2 separate regions of the Homo sapiens genome follow, and region 2 is linked to region 1. Evidence: promoter capture Hi-C in 16 types of primary human blood cells and fetal thymus (Javierre and others, 2016). All regions are on one chromosome and are shown on one strand. Each heading gives the region's core, a stretch centred on a gene start or on the middle of the fragment in contact. The rest is flanking DNA. Distances are from core to core; before and after follow the strand shown. Region 1 holds the start of PTPN14 (protein tyrosine phosphatase non-receptor type 14). Region 2 overlaps SMYD2 (SET and MYND domain containing 2).

What was found. The method cuts DNA at HindIII sites, captures the fragments that hold promoters and counts their contacts. A CHiCAGO score of 5 or more calls a contact.
Region 2: a contact is called between a fragment that was not itself captured here and the fragment with the promoter of PTPN14 in region 1, in 1 of 17 cell types (endothelial precursors). The highest score is 5.0, in endothelial precursors.

What each region holds. Positions count from the first base shown.
Region 1 is chr1:214,550,350-214,553,335 of GRCh38, forward strand. It overlaps PTPN14 (protein tyrosine phosphatase non-receptor type 14), which reads right to left and starts at 1,253. Exons shown (of 19, transcript NM_005401.5): 1 at 834-1,253. RefSeq lists enhancers at 1-737, 738-1,558, 1,559-2,379. The HindIII fragment of the contact is 5,292 bases long and covers 1-2,986 here.
Region 2 is chr1:214,328,297-214,331,186 of GRCh38, forward strand. SMYD2 (SET and MYND domain containing 2) reads left to right here. Exons shown (of 12, transcript NM_020197.3): 8 at 1,872-1,982; 9 at 2,654-2,774. Among named protein-coding and RNA genes, the nearest start is that of SMYD2, 49 kb to the left of the region's middle. RefSeq lists a silencer at 550-844 and an enhancer at 771-860. The HindIII fragment of the contact is 1,122 bases long and covers 725-1,846 here.

The DNA of each region.
Region 1 (2,986 bases), core at 3-2,502:
GTCCCTAGACTTAAGCGGAAACCCCACAATTTCTGAAATTGTAGGTGGGGATGAGAAGGTTGGAGAACAAGAACCCAAGGAAGTGAGAGGGAAAGGGAGATAGGGGCAGCGTTACCTCACTGCTCTCTCCAAACGAAAAGGTGTAAACCCCATTTACAAGTATTCAAACCTGAGATCTGGGGGTCACGTGGGGAAGGAGAGGCTGTTAATACCTACAACTTTGGAAGTTTGAGGTGAAGACCTGATCTGAAATTGTTTGGCCACAGCTTTTTTTCTACGAGCCAGCTCGACCACCCAAGTAGGAGCCTCGACGCCCAGGAGTTCGGTGGCACCACTGGGGCCTAGTGAGAGGGCAGGAAAACTCCGCTCCCCTCAAGATTCCTTCCCGGTGGTGGTGGGGTGTGATTGGGAGCGTCGGGCAGCTGCATCCCCCTACCGCTGCAGCGACCGCGACGTCGTTCGTCTTTCATCCTCTAGCCCCCAAGGTCTAGGTATCTCTAGTTGCCCTTCCGAGGCCCTCTCTCGTTCCCAAAACGCAGAAGGGAATGGAGAGAGGGGACCAGGGTGTGGGTTTAACCACAAACTCCCCAGACTGCGCTCACCTTCCAGCTCGCTCCCGGGACCAGCTTTGCGCCTCACCGCGGGCAGCTCCCACCGCGAGATAACACCCCTGCGGCCCGGCCACCCCGCGCCCCAGGCTGCCCTGCCAGGCGTCCCGGGGCGCCAATCGCAAGTTGGCGTTGCCAGCGTCTGCCCAAGTCATCTGCAGGGCGCCCGGAGCGCCAAGGCGGCCTCCAACCTCGGGCCCAACTCCCGGCTTGGACGGGGCTTACCTGCTTACATGGCCCCCGTGGCGCCCCGGAGTCCCGCGCGGAAAGGCTGTCCTTCGCGGCGGCGGAGCCGATTCCCCACGGAATTGATTCCAGTGACTGGCGGAGGAGGGGCGAAGGGAAGGAGCCGCAGGAGGCGAAAGGGGAGGGAGGTTTCCGCCGCGATCCCGGCGCGAGAGTCCGAGCAGAGGCGCACCGGGGGAGAAAAGGAGAAAAACCTAAGCACGGGGCTGTCCCGCCCGAGGAGGCCGGGGAGGATGGCTCAGCTGGGAGGGGAAGGAGCGCCAGTGGCCACTTGATGTCTGTCTAGGGCTCCCCGAGGACCTGAGCCAGGAGAGCAGGCGGCTGAGCCCGGAGAAGCACAGCAACCTGCCCCCGAGTCTGCGCCCGCTGCGCTCACTCCGCCGAGAAAAAGTTGGAAAGAACTTTGAGGGGCCGGGAGAGCCAGAGCGGCAGGAAATGCGAGCGGCCGGGAGAGGAGGGAGGAAGGGGCCGTGCGAGTGGGAGGGGACGGAGCAGGCGCCGGCGGCCACGGCTCCCCCACCCCAGAGCCGGGCTCCGCGGCCCTGGGGGCCGGGAGGCGGAGGGAGCGCTGGGCGCGCGGCCGGGGGCGGGGAGGAATGCGGCCCGGGAGGGCGCGCGCCGGGGGCGCCGCGGGCGCGCGCTGAAACGTGGAGCCCCAGCTCCCGAGCTCCCGAGCTGGAGGCGCGCCGTCCTTGGGGACGTCACAGCGCTGGAATCCGAGGAATGCCGGGCTGCAGGAGCTCCTTCTGCAGGCCCGGAGAAGTCGCACACTTTTAATGGGGTAGTTTTGGAAAATGTTTTAAAAGGTGGGGGCCGAGGACGGAGGACCGGATGAAACTCCCTGGAGTAAGAGACGTGGAAGTGGAGAGAGCAAGGCGACCGCAGCCACCCCAACCCTGGGCTGCTCCCGCCGTTGGGGAGAAAGAGGCAAGGCAAGGAAGAGCCCACCTAGACTTCCGAGGACCGCAGAGACGGGGCGGCGGCAGGAACTTGCTCACCCCGACCTACATTCAGAATAGTCCACCTTATATTGGGGAACCCTCCAAGCAGGACGTTTCATGCAGCCACCCCACAGGGGAAAACAGACCAGGAGAAAGTAAGGTGGCCTCACCAAGTAGGCAATCTCAGAGATCTCTCCCTAGAATCTCTGGGTACTGGACCCGGTGTCTTAGCCTTCTCTCCCTGCCCCCTCCCGCCCCGTAGGAATGATAAAAAGCAGCCTGTGTGCTGAGAGTTGGAAAATGTCGTTTTCCCGGTTTGTTCCATGCCACAGAATCGCCCCACCCTGCCTGGGTAGGCACTGGGAGGGAACTTCCTTAGCACTTTCGGAGGTGGAGTTAATGAGACGCAGCTGGTATGATGGAAAAAGCTCGGAGCCAGGCGACTGAACCTGGGTTTTAGGCCCTGCCCGATTGGATAACTGAGGAGTATCCCAGCCCCTGAGATCCTAGGTTTCTGTAGCTGCAAAATTAAATAATTTGTCTAGATTTCTGTGGTCCTTTGCATTGCTACAAACATGTCTTGGGATTTATCTCGGTAAGATTCCAGTCCTTTGTTGAAAAGGGACCTTGAAGTCGTTGGCACACAATGTATTGTCCCAAATCACTTCAGTGTCCGGCAACTCATGCAAAAATTCCTGGCCTCTTGGGGAAGAGAATTGGAAACCAAAAAGCGCGGTGGCTCACACCTGTAATCCCAGCACTTTGGGAAGCCAAAGCTGGGGGATTGGCTGAGCTCAGAAGTTCGACACCAGCCCGGGCAACACGGTGAAACCCCGTCTCTACTAAAATTCAAAAAATGTTTCGGGGGTGGCGGCGTGCGCCTGTAGTCCCAGCTACTCTGGGGCTGAGGCAGGTTAATTGCTTGAACTTGGGAGGCGGAGGTTGCAGTGAGCCGAGATCGCGCCACTGCACTCCAGCCTGGGCTACACGGCCAGACTCCTCTCAAAAAAATAAAATAAAATAAAATAAAATAAAATAAATAAATCCGTAGTGACTCTGATTTTCTTCGAGCATCTGCCAATCTCTAGAACTGTAAATTAGAGAAAACGCCGAGTGCAATGCAAAAGTGATGGAAAGAAAAGGTTGAAGGGAAATCAACTTTCTCACATTTTAAAGGAAATAGCTGTACAG
Region 2 (2,890 bases), core at 36-2,535, 220 kb before region 1:
GAATCTAAATCAAAAGTCCAGGTATATGCAGTAATAGGAGAAGTCAAGGCAGTCTGTGGCCAAGGGGCACCTTAGTTTCCCTCCTCAGCTTCAGGACGTGGAGAGAACCAGTCTTCCCATCACCTGCTCAGCGATTCCCTGTTCCCTTCCCATGTGTGATTCCTGACTACCTCATGAGACGTCTCACCTGGGAAGGGCTGGCCTGATGGATTGCTGTAGTATGCTCTGTGTTCTTAAGTAAATTCCCAGCAAGACACATGAGTTTTTAGGAACTTGTAATCACACTTGGGTTAATTTCAGTTTAGCAATTTGTAATGCTATTTTACGGTGCATGCCTGGGTATTTGAAGTGTGAAGTGTAAAATATAACTGTCAGCGTGCTGAATGACAAGTGCTTTGCTTTCTCTGGAAGGCACTCACTAATCCACAGCTGCACTGGGAGCTGAAGCCCAAGATGCAGGCAGGTTGGCCCTTCTACCTTCAGCTAAATCCATTACGATGAGGGTGTGTCCCCTTTCGGCTGGGGTGTCTGAGTTTCCAAAGGTCTTATGGAGACTGCTCTGAAGCCTTTCTTGAAACAGATAATTGCAGCCAGTCAGAATGCAGTCACCCAGGCTCCAGTGCACCTGTGGGCTGACTGCAGAGATGAGCAGGTTGTCACCTAAGCTGGCTCAGTCTGGCTGGGAGCAGTGGTACTGGAGTGGCCTTTGTCGCCATCTTCTGGAAGCTTCCGCATGTTGCACTGTGAGTCAGTCATTACAGAGATTGTTGGCAGGCTCTTGTGGTGTGAGGCAGGGCAGGGGTGGCTGCAGTTTCCTTTTGCCCTTATGTTCTCCCAGATCTGAAACGCAGTAACCTCATTTTTGGGAAGTCAGTGCTTTGGGGATTACTTACCCTTCAGAGAAGGAGAAACCCCATTCCCCAGGGTTTCGGGGTGAGCTGCAACGTGTCCAGTACCTCCCCATGGGCTGGGGAGAGCTTAGCTGCCCCTGCAGCACCCAGCCCTGTGCGTGTCCTCCCCTGCCTGCCTGGTGGTGCCCGTGGTCACTGGCACGCTAGCGGCTTCATGAGATCCATCTGTTCAGTCAGACATTTGCCTGATTGTGTGGGATGAGTAGCCAGTGCTGTCCCAGTGAGTAGATAATGGACATCTAAATGCTGGTCTCCTCCATATGCTCCAAGCCTTAGTTACAGACCCCATTAGGAAAAGGCAAGGACGGTGGAGCCCCATGAACCAAAGGTAAGGACTTTCCAAGCTCGCTGCCCTGCAGGATCAGGAGCTGCCCGCTGGGCCAGGCCGCAGCATTCTGGTGTCCTAGAAGATGTGTTCACCCTCCGCTGGCCACCCAGAGCTGTGGGTCCCAGCCCACTGAGTGGAGCCTCTTGCTCCATTGCCAGTTGATGTGAGGAGAAGGGGAGCTTAGCTGCATGTGTGTGGTGTGTGCGTGCTCATGCCCTCCCCTGCACGCAGCATCCAGTGATGACGGCAACGAAGCATTTGCGCCGTCTCAGGTGGTGAAACATGAAACTACATGAAGGCCAGGCAGAGGCAGCTGAGGGAGGCAGGGATCCTCTGAACCCTCCAGGACACTGTTTTAAGGACTCCTTGATTCTACAGACTCTTTCCACTAACCTGCACCTTGGCTTCAGCTCCCAGTTCAGCTGTGGATTAGTGAACACCTTCCAGAGAAAGCCAACGTCAGGTGGCTGCTCAGTTCAGGAATTCCGTGCCTTAAAGTAAACAGCGCATTCCTCCGCTGCAGCCCGCCTTATCCTCTGCATGGGCCCTGCAGGTGACTGCAAAGGCACGGGAATGACAAGGATTGAGTTTACCTGTAGCAGACTGAAGCTTTATCTTTTTGGACCCCGTAGGTTTTTACCAGCTATATTGATCTCCTGTACCCAACGGAAGATAGAAATGACCGGTTAAGAGATTCTTATTTCTTTACCTGTGAGTGCCAGGAGTGTACCACCAAGGACAAGGTAAGGTTGTTCATTGGGCAAGAGCGCTGACTGCACTCTGATCTCAGGACCTCTCTGCTGAAGAGCTTGTCTGACTTGGCGGATCTCCTCTAGGATCTTTTTGACCCTTTAAACCCTCCTTACAAAGACAGCCAAAGGGAATCTAGTTAGACCAGGTCTCTGTTCAGACCTGCTCCTAGTAGCTAAAGAAAACATTTCCATTACACTGTACAAACAGGAGAAAGGTCTGCCGAACTGCTCTTTCTTGAAAAGAAACAACTGCTCAAAGGAGGAGGGGGGAAAAGCACATGAGTATAATCTCTAGGCTTTCCAACCTGTTCACCAGAATATGTGGAAGTTTCCCTGGCATTTTCCAAATTGTTCCGTCAATGCCATCCTTCCTTATTCTAGTCTCTTGATTCGTAGATGTGTAAACACATATATCTGCCCATAGCCAACACATTTTAGATAAGGAGTATCTAGAAAATTAATCTTTTTGTTTTGTTTCTGTAAAAAGGTAATGGAGTACTGAATTTCTTCAGATGCATTGCCTGATTTCCTTTCATTCTTTTGTAACCTTGGAATGGGCCAGTGTCGACCGCTGTGTGGGAATGTGTATTATATGAGAGGTTTCCCTATCAGTGTGGTTTCCATGGGCGGTAACGCCTTGCCCTTGTGGACGTTTCCTTCAGGATAAGGCCAAGGTGGAAATCCGGAAGCTCAGCGATCCCCCAAAGGCAGAAGCCATCCGAGACATGGTCAGATATGCACGCAACGTCATTGAAGAGTTCCGGAGGGCCAAGCACTATAAATATATCCTTTACAACTGCCCTGATAGCTTATTATCCCTCGCCAACAAGGCAAGGTGGGAAGTTGGAAAGAGGGAGCAGGAGAAGGATGGATTTAAGATTCTGAAAACCAAAGGAGGA